Regions from separate parts of the Homo sapiens genome. Here regions 1, 2 and 3 are each linked to region 4. Evidence: promoter capture Hi-C in 16 types of primary human blood cells and fetal thymus (Javierre and others, 2016). All regions are on one chromosome and are shown on one strand. Each heading gives the region's core, a stretch centred on a gene start or on the middle of the fragment in contact. The rest is flanking DNA. Distances are from core to core; before and after follow the strand shown. Region 1 has its middle 23 kb from the start of PHC1. Region 2 holds the start of A2ML1 (alpha-2-macroglobulin like 1). Region 3 holds the start of PHC1 (polyhomeotic homolog 1). Region 4 holds the start of MFAP5 (microfibril associated protein 5).

The links. Contacts are between HindIII fragments. The CHiCAGO score rates a contact against its expected background, and 5 or more counts as called.
Region 1: a contact is called between a fragment that was not itself captured here and the fragment with the promoter of MFAP5 in region 4, in 3 of 17 cell types (M1 macrophages, M0 macrophages and monocytes). The highest score is 6.6, in M1 macrophages.
Region 2: a contact is called between the fragment with the promoter of A2ML1 here and the fragment with the promoter of MFAP5 in region 4, in 17 of 17 cell types (endothelial precursors, naive B cells, total B cells and 14 more). The highest score is 21.0, in endothelial precursors.
Region 3: the fragment with the promoter of PHC1 here is called in contact with the fragment with the promoter of MFAP5 in region 4 in 15 of 17 cell types (M1 macrophages, non-activated CD4 T cells, M0 macrophages and 12 more); the score reaches 8.6 in M1 macrophages.

The regions. Positions count from the first base shown.
Region 1 is chr12:8,889,880-8,894,016 of GRCh38, reverse strand. No RefSeq gene overlaps it. Among named protein-coding and RNA genes, the nearest start is that of PHC1, 23 kb to the left of the region's middle. The HindIII fragment of the contact is 4,563 bases long and covers 1-4,073 here.
Region 2 is chr12:8,821,114-8,825,185 of GRCh38, reverse strand. A2ML1 (alpha-2-macroglobulin like 1) reads right to left here and starts at 2,565. Exons shown (of 36, transcript NM_144670.6): 1 at 2,473-2,565; 2 at 1,821-2,004; 3 at 1,304-1,466. The coding sequence starts at 2,534. The region is part of intron 1 of A2ML1-AS1 (A2ML1 antisense RNA 1); the gene reads left to right. The HindIII fragment of the contact is 3,171 bases long and covers 2,293-4,072 here.
Region 3 is chr12:8,911,916-8,915,998 of GRCh38, reverse strand. PHC1 (polyhomeotic homolog 1) reads right to left here and starts at 1,490. Exons shown (of 15, transcript NM_004426.3): 1 at 1,172-1,490. RefSeq lists silencers at 1,039-1,328, 1,399-1,448, 1,499-1,608 and an enhancer at 3,805-4,083. The HindIII fragment of the contact is 8,234 bases long and covers 1-2,412 here.
Region 4 is chr12:8,661,298-8,665,473 of GRCh38, reverse strand. MFAP5 (microfibril associated protein 5) reads left to right here and starts at 2,648. Exons shown (of 10, transcript NM_003480.4): 1 at 2,648-2,847; 2 at 3,368-3,427. The coding sequence starts at 3,370. The HindIII fragment of the contact is 12,173 bases long and covers 1-4,176 here.

The DNA.
Region 1 (4,137 bases), core at 543-3,042, 230 kb before region 4:
GTAATAATAATTTTAAAATAATTAAAATTTTTAGAAAGGAATTCTGCACTTTGGGTCTTATTTTCCTCATTTTTCAGTTGAAGAGACCTGATTGCATGATTTCTAAAGACATTTCCAATTCTAAGAAATTCTAATTCTATTTTCTGCCAATGATGGGCATTTCTTGAACTTTATCAAGAGTGCAGAAAATAGTCTTCACTCCATCTCCTGAGAACTAAAAAAGGTACAGGGTCTTGTCTCCCTAGGACCACTAACATGAGAGGCTCTCGCTGATGAGGGACTTTAGTCATAGGATGGATTCTTATGCATTTAGGATGGTGACTTCCTCACTTGGAAAGTCTATGTGTACATTCCTATTCAAAATATCTGGAAAGCTGGGCGCAGTGGCTCACGCTTGTAATCCCAGCACTTTGGGAGGCCGAGGCGGGCGGATCATGAGGTCAGGAGATCGAGACCACGGTGAAACCCCATCTCTACTAAAAATACAAAAAATTAGCCGGGCGTGGTGGCGGGTGACTGTAGTCCCAGCTACTTGGGAGGCTGAGGCAGGAGAATGGCGTGAACCCAGGAGGCGGAGCTTGCAGTGAGCCGATATTGCGCCCCTGCACCCCAGACTGGGGGACAGAGTGAGACTCCGTCTCAAAAAAAAAAAAAAAAAAAAAAATCTGGAAAGCAGACCACAAGATGTACAGAACAAATGGCGGAACACAGAAACCAGAAACACGGAGAAAAGTAATCTCGGTTCCAGAGAAGGCATAGGCTATCTCCCCTTACAAGAACAATCCTCCCACACCGCACCCCTCACCTGTCTCATTCCTGCTTATTCTTCATCTTGCAACTTGAGTGTCACTTCTGGGAATTCTTAATTCAGCCCAAAGATTAGGTTAGGTTCCCACAACCTGACTGTGCTTTGTCACATTCATCCCCCTAATGAAGGGCAGGCAGTGTTGCTCTCCCTCACTAAGCTGCAAGCCTGGGAAGGGCAGGGAGTGTGGTTGTCACATTCATCCTGTTCACTACTCAGTGGGTGCCCAACAGATTCGCACTTAATGAAGGCCCCTCTGCTGGCCTTCAGATTTCAGTGCTTATGGAATAATTATTTCTGTCCCCTGCCACTCAGCCCTGTACTCTGCTTTGTGATGGAAAAGAGGAAACCAGGAATAAGAAAATGTGCCCCACAGATTTTGCCAAAACCATAATCTGTTAGATAAATTGCTGAGAGGGAAAACACTAGAATACCTCAAACGGTAATTCCATTCAACACAAAATACGTAAATATACGTACTTTGGGAAAGTACATCACATATCACCACAGAGCAAACGCTGTTGGATCGCCATTATTTAAGGAATATCTCATACTCAGTTTCTGGATTTCTGCAACAACTGGTAAAGGGGAAAATATCACATTTCTTAAATTTATACATGTATAGGCTGGGCACGGTGGCTCACACCTGTAATCCCAGCACTTTGGGAGGCCGAGAGGGGAGGATCACTTGAGGTCAGGAGTGTGAGACCAGCCTGGCCAACATGGTGAAACCCTGTCTCTACTAAAAATACAAAAAAGTTGTCTGGGCTTGGTGGTGGGAGCCTATAATCCCAACTACTTGGGAGGCTGAGATAGAAGAATCACTTGAACCTGGGAGGCGGAGGTTGCACTGAGCCGAGATCGTGCCACTGCACTCCAGCCTGGGTGACAGAGCAAGACTCTGTCTCAAAAAAAAATAAAAAGATAAAAATAATAATAAAAGAAATTTATACATGTATAGTTGAATAAGCACAGAATATCTCTGAAAAGATATACCAGAAACTGAGAATTAGCCAAGCCCCACCCACACACTTTACTGCCTACATTAGCTTGACTTTGCTATTCTACTGTCTTTACCAACAAGACTTTAGTATTTCAGGAAGCCCTTGCCCCAAAAATAAAAGCTGTAATGGGAATGGGTAATGGGTACAAAAAAATAGAATGAATAAAATGTAGTATTTGATAGCACAACAGAGTGACTCTAATCAATAATAATTTAGTGTGCATTTTAAAATAACTAAAAGTACAATTGTATTATTATTTTTTCTTGAAACAGAGTCTCACTCTGTCACCCAGGCTGGAGTGCAGTGGCTCAGTCTTGGCTCACTGCAACCTCTGCCTCCCAGGTTCAAGCAATTCTCCTGCCTCAGCCTCCTGAGTAGCTGGAATTACAGGCGCCCGCCACCACGCCCGCCTACTTTTTGTATGTTCAGCAGAGATGGGGTTTTGCCATGTTGGCCAGGCTGGTCTCCAACTCCTGACCTCAAGTGATCTACCCACTTCAGCCTCCCAAAAGTCCTGGGATTACAGGCGTGAGCCACTGTACCTGGCCTAATTGTATTGTTTGTAACACAAAGGATAAATGCTTGAGGTCATAGATATCCCATTTACCCGGATGTGATTATTACACATCACACGCCTGTATCAAAACATCTCATGTATCCCATATACCTACTCTGCACTCACAAAATGAAATTTTTAAAAACTTTTTATTTCCATAGGTTATTGGGGCACAGGTGGTATTTGGTTACATGAGTAAGTTCTTTAGTGGTGATTTGTGAGATTTTGGTGCACCCATCACCCGAGCAGTATACACTGAACCCAATTTGTAGTTTTTTATTCCTCTCTCCCTTCCCACCCTTTCCGCCCAAGTCCCCAAAGTCCTTTGTATCATACTTATGCCTTTAATTTTTTTTAACTGAAAAAACTTTTTAAAATAAAACTTTTAAATAATGTTATTGTTCATTTCAGGAATATCCAGACAACGTATTTTAAATTGCTTAGCTTTCCAGTACAGTTATCAAATGATTATTCATGCTCCAAAACTTTTTTAAGCCCTCACCTTGCTAAATCATGATCCGTACCCAAACTTAATCAGAGCCCTTCACTGAAAGACCCACCTTAATCCAACCTAGAACCTCATAAATATCCTCCCTTTGCCCTCCCCTCCCAGATGCTGCTCAAGTTTCCGCAAGGCGGTGTGCTCCCTTGCTAAGACATGAATAAACTCCAGCTTTGCCTATCTGTGAGATTTCGGGTGGTGTATTTCAGGGCGCTGACATTTGGCAAAAGTAATAGTATAGGTTACATCCGAGGAGGGAACTGAGAGAAGAAATGTGGAAGGTGTCTCTTAGGACCTTTGAATTTTTACGTGGGCGTGTATTGTCTATTCGAAAATAAATGCTAAAACAAAACAAAAAGTTTAAAAGCAGGACACCATTGTGTAATCTCCTTTCTGACCAGAAGGTGGCGCCTCCACCTTTCCTGGGGCTGGGGAAGGGGAAAGCTGTAGAGAGGGGAGAAAGGTCCCAGTGAAACAACAGGGGCCTACATTGAGAGTGGAAATTTTACCTCCTGGCAAGAAAGGTCCAGAATCTCTCTTCACAATAATAGCTAATATTTATTGAATATATATTAAATGCCAATTAAGATTTTTAAAACAGGCCGGGCACAGAGTCTCAAGCCTGTAATCCGAGGACTTTGGAAGGCTGCAGCCAGTGGACAGCTTAAGTCTAGGAGTTTGAGAAAAGCCTGGGCAACACGGTGAAACCCTGTCCCTATTTTTTAAAAATAAAAAATGAAAGATTTTAAAACAGCATTCTTCTTTTTTTCTTTTCTTTTTTTTTTTTTTTTGAGACGGAGTCTTGCTTTTTTACCTAGGCTGGAGTGCAGTGGCGTGATCTCAGCTCACTGCAACCCCCGCCTCCCAGGTTCAAGCAAATCTCCTGCCTCCCAAGTAGCTGAGATTACAGGTGTGCACCACCACTCCAGGCTAATTTTTATATTTTTAGTAGAGATGGGGTTTCATCATGTTGGCCAGACTGGTCTCGAACTCCTGAGCTCAAAGTGATCCACCTGCATCAGCCTCCCAAAGTGCTGGGATTACAGGCGTGAGCCACTGTGCCCAGGTTTAATACAGCATTCCTAAGGTAAAATTGGTATACAATAACAGCACATATTTAGTGTACAATCTGATGAATATTAACATGTATTCAACCATGAAACTATCACCATAATCAAGATAATGGAACATATCACCCCCAAAGCTTTCTTGTGCTAATTTGCAATCCCTCCCTTCCTCCCTATCAGTTTTAAGTACTTTACGTAGATAA
Region 2 (4,072 bases), core at 1,316-3,815, 160 kb before region 4:
ACTATGGAGAACAGTTTGGAGGTTTCTGAAAAAAACTAAAAATAGAGCTTCCATATAATCCTGCAAGCCCACTGCTAAGTATATATACAAAAGAAAGGAAATCAGTATATCAAAGACTATCTGTGCTGCCATGTTTATGGCATCAGTATTCACAATAGCCAAGATATGGAAGCAACCTAAGTGTCTATGAACAGATGATAAAAAATGGATTAAAAAATGTGGTACACATACATAATGGAGTACTATTCAGCCATAAAAAAGAATGAGACCCCATCCTTTGCAACAGCCTGAATGGAACAGGAGGTCATTATGTTAAGTAAAATAAACCAGACACAGAAAGACAAACTTTCCATGTTCTCATTTATTTGTGGGAGCTAAAAATTAAAACAATTGAAGTCGTGGAGATAGAGAATAGAATAATAATTTTTAAGTGTGTGGAAAAAAATAAGGTAAAAGGAAAAAAATTTTTTTGAAAGAGAGAGAGAGAACAGAATGATGGTTACCAGATGCTGGGAAGGGTAATGGTGGGCAGGATGAGGGGTGGGGTGGGAATGGTTAATGGGTACAAAAATATATTTAGCTAGAATGAATAAGATCTAGGGATCTTGTAGTTTTTAGCACAAAGAGTGACTACAGTCAACAATAATTTATTGCACATTTAAAAATTACTAAGAGAGTATAATTGGATTGTTTGTAATACAAGGAAATGATAAATGCTTGAGGTGATGGATACACATGTACCCTGATGTAATGATTACACATTGTGTGTGTGTATAAAAATATCTCATCTACCCCATAAATATATATACACCAGCTATGTACCCACAAAAATTTTAAATAAAAAAATAAAAAAAACCCAAACATAGTTTCTTTTCAGGGTGCCTGACTTTGAAATCTCAGAATGAAGTGCCCCTGTAAGGACGAATGAACAAATACAAAAAAAAAAAAAAAAAAAAAAAAAAACCCCAGTAGCTCAAGCCAAATGCCCTCAGTGCTTTCTTAGCCATTTACAAGCAGTTTGTTGTAAGGCCCAGCAACCCAGTTATACTTGCCAAATTCTATTCCAGAAGAAATGTGTACTTTTGTTTTAGATACACAAACTCAGTAGCAACCCCCACCTACTTCTCTTGCTTGTGTAGCGCAGCATGTATTCAACACTTGCACTACTTAATCCCCCCAGATTTTCCTCTCCTCTGCACTCCTTTTTTTCCAAAGCCTACTGTCAAACCACAAATCCCCTCTTTACCCCTGTGCACAGCGGTTTCCCCAGGTTTTAGTCGAACCCCAAATATGTGACTCTTACCTTGCTGCCCTGGGGTGTAGAGAGGTTTGTCAGTCTGTACAAAGGTGCCGTTCCCCTGCCTCTGAATTAGAACCTTTTTCTTCTCCTCAAAGCTGATGTTATTTCCAACTCCCGACACCCGGATTGTGGCCACTTCTTCTGTGCCACCAGCAGGAGGTGGTACCTGACCAAGAAAGGGGACTTCTGGGGAGGGGTAAGGGATTGGGGGAACAGAATCAACTGGTCTCAACCCAACAGTGAGTTAAAGGAAAGAGCTGAGTTAGATGGGGGTAGCAAGGATAGAGACATAAAACAAATTACCACGAGGAAGAATTAAGGTCAGGAACTAAAGGGAGAAATCCTAGGTCGAGGAAACCGTGGGTGAGTTATAGCCGGGGATTGAGGTTAAGTTGAGAAAAAATAGGTTTAGAGGCCGTGGCAAAAGATAACAGAAATTATACTTAAAGTAGATTATAGTGAGCCTAGGGAGGAGAATAGGCAAGTAAGGGATTCGAGTGAGGGCTGAGTCTGTGCTTACAAGAAAGGAGATACAATGTAAGTGCCTCTTCTTCAGTCCAGAGTATTCTAGCAACTTCTGGGTCTTGTCCTTGGTCTCCAGAGTAACCGTGAATTTAACATCACTGTACCCAGGGCTCAGGTCCAAACAAACCTTCTGAACGGAGGGGAAATTTAGCCGGGCTGGTAATGTCACCAGGTAGTTTCTATTAAAGGAGCAGAAGGATTTCAGGGCAATAATGATTCATTCACTCGAAAAATCCAGCACTCTCCTAAGCGCTCAGCAAGTAGCAGTGAATTAGACAGACCAAGCCCCTGCCTTCCTTATGCACCTCATTTTCTACAAGAAGCAGAGGGGCAACGACTCAGTGCACAGTCTTCAACTTCCGCCATCAGGAGGCCCTCACCGAGCACACATGCCTAGAGCACCAAGGAGGAAATTAGGCCTATTTCAGAAAACAGGGCACATTTTAATATTTATCTTTTTTAAAGCTTCCTCTTCATGCGTCAGCCTCCCTCTCTGGGTAAAGGATCAGTGGAACCAAAGAAGAGAAAAAAGGAGGAGGAAATTAAGATAAACCAAAGTTGATCTCCCCATCTCCATATAAATGTTTGAGAAAGTTAGGCGAAGAAGCCGCTGCCCTAATAAACCAATTCTGACACCAAGCACTCACGGAAGTTCTTCTGCAATGGCTGGTGATAGGGCCAACATTCCTAGAAGGAGCTGAGCCCACATCTTTGTGGGTGAGACAGATTTTTCCAGGGTCAGGGGCAGAGATCGCTCCGCGTAGCTTTATATACTAATTCCAGGTAGGGTGTGCAGTGATGACTGATGCTATAGTCAGTCACCTCCTGGCACCTGGAACACAGGAGGACTGTGTTCCTCCTTCTGTAACCACCAGGTTAGGTGGTGGACCAGGGTAGGGCCACTATTCACTTCTTTAAAGTTGTTTCTGCCTGGAACATCCATACTGGTTCAGCCAGTTTTGGGGGAAAACCAGAGCTGAGTATTCATAATGGTAAAGCTCTCAGAACATATTTTGAACTCCTCCCTTTTTTTCTGGTCTCATTCCAATTCCTGTTCTCATTTAATGTCCTTATTTTCTTTTATTATTCAATTAAGGTGTAGTTGGGAACACGGGTATGAGAACAGTTTCAATAGAAAAGCAGTAAACTTGGCCGGTCACAGTGGCTCACGCCTGTAATCCCAGCACTTTGGGGGGTTGAGGTGGGCAGATCACCAGGTCAGGAGTTCAAGACCAGCCTGGCCAACATAGTGAAACCCTGTCTCTACTAAAAATACAAAGAAAAAAAAATCAGCTGGGCATAGTGGTGGGTGCCTATAGTCCCAGCTACTTGGGAGGCTGAGGCAGGAGAATCGCTTGAACCCGGGAGGTGGAGGTTGCAGTGAGCCGAGATCATGCCACTTTACTCCAGCGTGGGTGACACAACGAGACTCTGTCTCAAAAAAAAAAAAAATTAATACTACTCAGTATTGTTGTGACTGTATGGAAATAGGGACACACACAGTCCTAGAGAAAATAGAATGTGGATAACTTTCTCATGGCAATTTTGTAATACACACCAAAGCCTTTGAGATTTGCATATTCTTTCACTCAGCAACTCCTACTCTGGAAATGTTTCTTAATGAGGAAAAAAAGGACAGCATGCATGTATGCACAAGTGTAACACTGAGTTTTTTCACACTGTTCTTTCTTTTTTTTCTTTTCTTTATTTTTTATTTTTTTGAAGTAGAGTCTCACTTTATCACCCAGGCTGGAGTGCAGTGGCACAATCTCAGCCCACTGCAGCTTTGACCTCCTGGGCTCAAGCGATCCTCCCACCTCCACCTCCTGAGTAGCTGGGACCACAGGTAGGCACCAACACTCCTGGCTAATTGTTTTGTATTTTTAATAGAGACAGGGTTTCACCATGTTGCCCAGGCTAGTCTCGAACTCCTGAGCTCCAGGGACCACCTCAGCCTCCCAAAGTGCTGGGATTACAGGTATGAGCCACCGTGCCCAGCCCACAGTGTTCTTTATGATGGTAATACTTAGAAGTCACCTAAAATATAAATTAGTCTAAGTGCAGTGGCTCATGCCTATAATCCCAGCTTTTGGGAGTCAGAAGCTGGAGGATTGCTTGAGCCCAAGAGTTTGAGACCAGCCTGGGCAACATAGTGAGACCCCGTTTTGTAACCACCCAATGGATTCACCTTGCTTGCTGCCTAGACAGAGCCGATTTATCAAGACAGGGGAACTGCAATGGCAAAAG
Region 3 (4,083 bases), core at 241-2,740, 250 kb before region 4:
ATAGATTACTGGATTTAGTTCACTGGACTCAGAGACACGAGACCCCTTTGCTAGGTATAGAGAACATAATTCCTACATTCACATGTGAAAATACAAACCGTATGACCCCTCGTCTTCCCAAACCTGAATTCTGATTAATAATTTTTTTTGGATTGTGAACTAGAAATAAAAATGTAAAGGGACCAACTTAAAAGTCTCAATAAAATCAAGGGAAACTGCCACCAAAACCAGGATTCCTGGATCCCGGGCACATAAATGTATTCATTTGTGATCAACATTATGACTACAAGATTAAATATAAAAAATGGAGACAACAAACAGTTTGGGCAGCACCAGGTATCAAAATTTTCCAAATTAAACTGGAAGACAGTGAGAAGCTGATCCACAGATGCCCCCAGAGTAGCTAAGCCATGGTCATCTTAAAAGGTAGCATGTGGGCATACATGGGGTTGGGTAGGCGCACAGACCTACCGAAGGGAGTTAGAATGGGACATTGAGGTGGACTTAGCATTGGGCCGAGAGTTGGAGAAAGTCAATATCCCTAAGCACGAAACTCTTATCATGCAGAAAGGATGGGACATAGGAAGGGGGACGGGAGAAGGGGGTGGTTCAGGGAAGACTGTGCCAAAGACACGGTAATAATCAAGAGAACAGGGAGTAGACGCCCAAGGGTCCTCGTTCTATATAGAACCTTGATGAAAATGATGTTTCAAAGAGAAATCAAATACACTGGGGGAAGGGGGTGGATCCAGTGGTGCGCCGGGAATGAACTGACCCAAGTGAGCTGGGACATGTGCATACAGAGAGCAGAGGCAGAAGTCAAGGAACTGGAGGCTGAGGAACCCAGCGGACCACGAAAGCAGGGAGATAACTAGACAGCATGCTCGGCTGGAAGGACCAAAGTCAGAGAAGGAAAAATGAATAAGAAAATGAGCAGTCAGAGGCAGCTAGGGTGACGGACAGACAGCATGAAGCGCAGCAGAATGAATAGCCAGAAGACTCGGACAGGCAGAGCCGAAGGACCGCAGAGCTCAGCGCCGGAGGTAGGCAGGGAAAGCAACTGGGGGAGGTACCTGGGGCGTTACACAGATGGAGGTGGCTGAGGATACATCCCCGCGCAGCCAAGCCCCCAGAGGTCCTGCCCCTCCCCGGCCCTCGGTCGCCCGGTTACCTTCTCGCCTGGCTGTGCACCCAAGTCTTCCCCGGGGGCGTCCACCTCATGTGCCGGGGTCCCCAGTCGCCAGGCTGGGCTGGGGGCTCGCTCGGCCTCCGCGGCGGGCTCCCCTCGCCTCCTCCCCTTCCTGGAGGGGCGGGGGCGCCGAGGGCGGGGTGGGAGGCGCCCGGCGCGACCGCGGCTCCCCGCCCCTCCCGCCGCTCCGGGTGCGGGCCCGGCCGCGGCTCAGCCAGGCCTCCGGGGCTCGCTCCGGGCCTGTCACTTCCTGCCCGGCCGAGAAGGTGGGGGCCGCAGGCCAGGGGCTGCGGGCCGGGCTGGAGGAGGGGGCTGCGGGGAGGTGCTTCCGGGGCAGCCGGACCCCCCCCCCGCCGTCCCTCCGCCTCCCCTCGGCGCCCTCCGCCCCCTCCCTCCCGCGCGTCCCTCGTTTCCTGCCGGCGCCCGTTGCCATGGCGACGCAGCTCCCGGGCCTCTGCGCTCCAGGCCCAGGGGTTTTTTCCTCTCTTGCTCTCTTTCTCCTCTTTTTTACCCCCTTCTTTCTCTCCGAGTTCTGCTCGCCGGTTGGAAGGACGAAACTAAGAAAGTGCTGGCCTCTAGTGGGGAACGCACCTCTCGGAGAGGAGAGGGAGATGGGAGAAGGGAGGGAAGTGACGTGAGACGGGGAGAAAGAAGGTATTTTCTGGAGCTGCTGGGAATAAGGGGTAGAAAGAAAGGATCAAAGGGACCAACAGACAGAGAGGGAGAAAGAGCAAAGCAACGACCCCTAGAGAAACGATAGACTGGGAAAAGAAATGAAGCAAAGGAAAGGAAGGAAAAGGCGAGAAAAACTTTGAGAATGAGAGAAAGGAGAGAGAAGGTTGATTGTTTAATCCCTCACCTCAACTCCAAGAAGGCGGGAAAGAATGCTGCAGAAACAGCTAACCCATTAGGAGTTGACTTCATTTTCAAAGCAGCAACCTAATGTAACTTCCTTTGGATAGCATTTAAGTTTGTCATTTCAGGGATTTGTGTGTGCTTCGATTTCAATATGTATATGAGTTCGAATGACAAAAACGGGAAAAGGCCAGAGTATAACGAGATGTAGAACAATGGGGCTGTCTCTGGGAACACTAAACATTTGATAGGGGAGCCGTTGTCGTTGTATTTATGATATCAACTTACCGGTTTTTAATTACTCTCTCATCGTTCAACATTCAATAAATATTTATAGAGCGTCTACTATGTGCTAAACCGTGGAAGCTTGGATTGCATCAGTGCACGAAACAAAGATAACTGCCTTACTGCCTTCATTAACCTTTACAGAAGGGTCTGGGGGATGCCTCGTGGATTAACAACTGGGATTGATGCCTTTTCTCTTGCTCTCAGTCTTTTCCTAACCTCTATCCTAAACAGTTATTTTCTCTGTCAATCCACTCTTCCTTTTCTCCTTTAAAAGCCCATGCATGGTTTGTTTATAGAGAAAAAAACAGAAGTGTTATCTTTGCTTATAAATTATATCCATTTAGATTTTGCTTTGAGAGAGGAGTATTTGGACTCCAAGGTCTTTCATTTGTGGCAGCCAGATTAAAATCGGAGAACAATTTCTGCCAGGCTTCTAGGAACTAGTCAGACAGGTATGTGAGGGAAGAAACCGGAGGGCAGCCAAAGGACTGGAAAAGCGAAGACACGGGGTATGAGGAGGTGAAAGGGTGTGTTACCAGGCCGTGGATGACAGGCACTGGCTGAGGATGATTTGAAAAGATTCTGACTGGTAGAACTAGTGGTGAAAACGAGGTAAAGCATTCGTTGTTTAATTCACACCTGGATTTTTGGCATGTCAAAGCAGTTAAAGCTTTCTTGCAGAAGTTTAGAAATGGATATCGATTGAGCCTAGGCGGAATTTTCTAGCACCAATGGAAAAAAAAAGCATCTATAGATAATTTTCAGATTATACAACATTAAAGTTAAGAAACATGACTCATGTGCTTCCTTAGTTTCCCTGGGAGAATTATCACTGTTAAGTGTCTAAAGAAGATTTGTAAGCTATAACAAGAATAAGGAATGCAGATATCAGAGGGTATGGACTTGTTTTTCTATAGCCTATGGAACTTGTGTACCAAGAGGGTACATGACCATATCGCATTTCACCCTCCTTACAAATGGAGCAGAATTACCGCTACTGCATATAGTTACATTCCACCCCTAAAGATTTTTTTTTTTTATTTACTAGGTCACCGGCTCCTATAGCTACTAGATAATGTTAGGGGATAAGCGATGAATACTTTTGTTGAGTGCCTGTTATAAATTTAGCCTGAGAATAATCTATCATGAGGCGAGCTATACTGATTATGGGCCAGTAGTTTAATTTTTATATGTAAAGGTGTGTGCTCCATATATCACAGGATTCTTTTCAAGTTCATTTTTCTCCAAGTCAGGCCAGTGTTCTAAGGTCATAGGTCTAAACAGTTCCCACCAAAAAAGATTTAGTATAAAAAAGAAATATATCAACAGCAAAGTAAAGTTATAGGAAAGCCTCCATCCATAAGAAAATCATTTTCATAGACTAAATCAGCTTGAGAGCAGGCATTGAAGAACTTATCTCGGTCTAAACAGCAAAACAATCTGTGTTCCCTAGAGAATACTCAACTTTTTTTTCTTAATTTTTCTAAAGTTTCTCATTTTCATTTAATGACTCTGCTTGAATTAGACTTTTCTTTTTCAAACAAAATGGTTCTTCTGAATGGAGGCTACAGAATGTCTTTACTCTGCATAACACTGAAGGCCATTAGCCTAAACAGGTGAGAAGGAAAAGCATTTAATCCGGTGTATGGAAATGGAAGCCCTCCTGCAAACTTCTCTAAATAAGGAAGGATCCTGGTTTGAAAGGCTGTCGATGTTTGGCAGCAACTGAAGCAAATAGACTAGAAGTTAAG
Region 4 (4,176 bases), core at 1,399-3,898:
AAATGATTAATTAATGTACAATGCAACAGAGGCTGACAAAATCACCCTGAGAAAAGCAAATCTGAGGATCTCTAAGCCTGGGGATCCAAACCTGGGCTCTGAGAACAAATGGGGAACTGTAGTAGAATAAAGGGCCCGCCATAGTTGCCATGAAAAAATTAACCAACCTTGGCCAGGTGTGGTGTCTCACACCTGTAATCCCAGTACTTTGGGAGGCTGAGGGGAGCAAATCACTTGAGGTTAGGAGTTCGAGACCAGCCAGGCCAACATGGCGAAACCCCCTCTCTACTAAAAATACAAAAATTAGCCGGGCCTGGTGGCGGATGCCTGTAATCCCAGTTACTAGGGCAGGAAAATCACTTGAACCCAGAAGACGAAGGTTTCAGTGAGCCAAGTTCACGCCACTACACTCCAGCTTGGGCAACAGAGCGAGACTCTATCTCACAAAAAAAAAAAAAAAAAAAAAAAGAAACTAACCAACCTTGAAACAAACTGCATTCTCAAAAGTCTTTAAAACCCAACAATATATGGTTGTCCTGCTCTTCTGCCAGTTCCTGTCTCACTACCTCTCCTTTCCTTCTAGGATGCTACTCCCTGCCTGTTCTCTTCTTCAGCCCTGCTCTGAACATTCTGTTCCTATTTTCACTGCCCCAACTCCAGACTACCTCCTACAACCCCAGGAGAACGCCCCCTCCCACTGCCTGGGGAGGCTCTCCTAAACTATAGCCTCTAGCCAGGCCAGCACATTGAGGTCATTGCTCTCCCTGCCAAATGACTGGCCTGAGTTCAGTGTCTCCATCTGTCTGAGCTTCATGGAAAACTTGATTGTTGCTCTAGGCTCTCTATTCTATGTCCTGCCTTAGCTATGTCCTGCTTTGCATCTGCTTTTTTGTTTCTTCTCCCAACACCCTTTTCTTCCCCTGACTCTCCTCAGACTAGAATCACATCTGTTTTCTAGTCTCAGCCCCTTCACTGGGGAGCAGATGGAAGAAGAGCAAGTTCTGGGGCAGGAAGATCAGGAAGAGCTGGGCGTAGCACTCAGCTTGTTCTGCGGACTGACCAGATTCCATGTATCTTAGAGATGTAGCACTTACAGCTCCCTCGGAGGTCCCAGAGGTGCTTACAAAGTGCGATTTGCTTATTTCTGTGTCCACTGCTCTTTTTTCCTCTCAACTAGACTCCTTCCTTCCTTCTTTCCTTCTTTCCTTCCTTCCATCATACCCCCTTTTATTTTCTTCTAGTATGTAATTTATTAATACTATCTGCTCTCTGTCTACCTGTACTCTTCTCTAATTTATTTCATCAGGGAGATATATAATGTAGACTAAAGGGGAGCCAACAGGAAACCTGAAACTTACATATTTCTATGGCATACAAGGTCCACCATTCCTCAGACTTGAGTTTCTGTAATTCAAGTTTGCTCTTGAATCCAAAGCGGGAATGTTTTAGTGGTTGAACCACTAGAGTCTCTGTGAATAAGAAGAAATACAAAGCCTTTAAAATTCCTGAATCAAGGCTGAGCAACATAGCAAAATCCTGTCTCTACAAAAAAATACATCTAAATTCGCCTGGCATAGTGGCATGCACCTGTAGTCCCAGCGACTTAGGAGGCTGAGGCAGGAGGATCACTTGAGCCCAGGTCAAGCCTGCAGTGAACTGTGATCATGCCACTGTACTCCAGCCTGGGTGACAGAGCAAGACCCTATCTTAAAAAAAAGAAAAAATCCTGGATCAGAGAAAGTGTTATCTACACATTATATGATCTAAGGAAAAATATTGGTAGAAAATGAGGCAAGCATAATAACCTTGCCTTTCAATTTTCTTTGGGCATCTGATTGCATTTTATCCTTAAGAGCCCAGAAACCCAGATTCTTAGTTAAGCTCAAACAAAGCCAAAAGACAAAGTAAGGCTGGCACCCCTTTCACAGAGCTTCTCTACATTTGAAAATGATTTGGAGAGTTCTGAAAAGTTCCTCAACTTTTTATAACCCTAAGGTAGCCAGCCTTCCTCTTGGACAAAACTCATAAGGTATCTGTGTTCGCTTGGTTGTGAGAATACATAGGATATTCCAAGGGGAAAAAAAACAAGAAGAGTCTAAATGTGTAGGTCAAGAAAGAGGCAGAGATGAAAAAGAAATACAGGAATAAAAAGAAATTTGTTAGTGCTGAAGAGACGAATATTGAAAAAGAAAGTGAGAAAGAAGGATGAAGGAATGATTCAAATATGGAATATAAGGAGGCTGAGGCAGGATAATTGCTTGAACTCAGGAGGCGGAGGTTGCAGTGAGCCAAGATCACATCATTGCACTCCAGCCTGGGTGACAGGAGCAAAACTCTGTCTTAAAAAAAAAAAACAAAAAACAAAGAAGAAGAAGATAGCCAGAGAGAGAGAAACAGCATCTATAATGTGCATTAAAACACACCAAGGAGGAGACGGAACTTTTCGGTAAGAAAGAACCCAAGGAACAAAGGGGAGCTGGGACCAGATCGTGAGAGGAGGGAAAATAGGCTAATGGAAGAAAGGCAATACATGAGCTGGGGCCAACACTTCCAGGGAGCAGCAAGAGCTCTCACCAGTGTAGTCATAACATTTGGAATGAGGGTGTGAGCAACTGCAAATTCCCATCTCCCTTCTCATTCCAGCCTCATTGTAACACACATTCTACGCCTAGCCTGGCTTTCTTGCTCTCCCTCATCTCATTGTTTCAGCGGAGGCCAAATCTGAAGTCCTTTCCAGGGAGTGGCTCTGTTCATCTTATTCGCCAGCCAAAGTAGGAACAGCGTAAGAGGAGAGAGACACATTCAGCAGCCAAAGGACTCGGTGGAAAGAGCAGAACACCATAGACAGTGAGTTATTTGATTACCTGAAACCCTAAAGAGACAGAGGGAATGTGTGTATGTCTGTGTGTGTGTGAAAGGGCTGGAGGGGGCAATGGGGAATGTCACTGAACTTAGTCTTGAGCAGACCTCCCAAATAACCGTGGAATTCTGATGAAGGAGACGCCAAGATGAGCAGATGATATGAAAAAGTCACGCATATGAGAAAGGAAGATTCCACATCAGGGGTGAAAGAGGCCAAAGGGTAGGGCCAAGTACGGACCATGTAGAATGTAAAATTTCCTCTGACTTGGTAGCAGAGAATAATAAAAGCAAGAATAATGGTAAGTGACCAAGGAATAGATTTGAGGGAGAAATGAATGTTGGGTGAAAGGTAAGAAAAGAGAGAAAGGGTTTGAGTCATAAGGGAAAATGAAGAAAGTTCTGGGAAGACAAAGAGACAGGGACCTCAGAGGCATCTTTCCCTGGCACTGAAATGCTGATGTGCCTCTGAGCATCACATTCTCTGCTATGCCCACCACCCCTATAGATATGTCGCTCTTGGGACCCAAGGTGCTGCTGTTTCTTGCTGCATTCATCATCACCTCTGGTGAGTCCTTTATTCTTTGCTCCCTAAACCCTCAGCTCCTCAGCTATACACGTGTGTGGCAGGAGATGGGATGGAATGAGGTCGAAGAGGAATAGCAGTAGAGATGCTTGGTATTGAGCTCTGGAATTCCTATTAGAAGAACAGATTTTGTGTTAAGAAAAAAAGTTCAGGAATGTGACTAGACTTCAGACTAGGGGAAAGGCCTCCCAAGAATTATGAAACTAAGGTGCAACTAAGATACACACAAATGCATATTAACCACCCAAAGAGGGTCACATATGAGTAAACAAATTGCAAAGCAAAAAAGAAGCTGATATACAAATGCATACACAAACATAGAGGAGGGACTACCTAGAAAGAAACTGGACCTGGGCTGGGCATGGTGGGCTCACACCTATACTCCTAGCACTTTGGGAGACTGAGTGGAGAGGATCACTGAGACCAACCTGGGCAACATAGTGAGATGAGTTAACCTCATCTCCATTAAAAAAAAAAAGGAAAAAAGAAAAAAAGAAACTGGACCAAATGTAAATCTTGAAGAAGAACAGTGGGAATACATACACTATTACCATCATGCATGCAGGTATACTCACATGCATGCAAAAAATATATGCCATACTGACACACAAGAGAAAAGTGATCTTCACAGATTTCCCAGAATCTGGCTAGAAGACTGGCCACAGAAAGTGAACTTTAGGCTGTAAAGATGTCCTACTCTATTTTTTTCCCTCCTTCTTCCGATACAGATT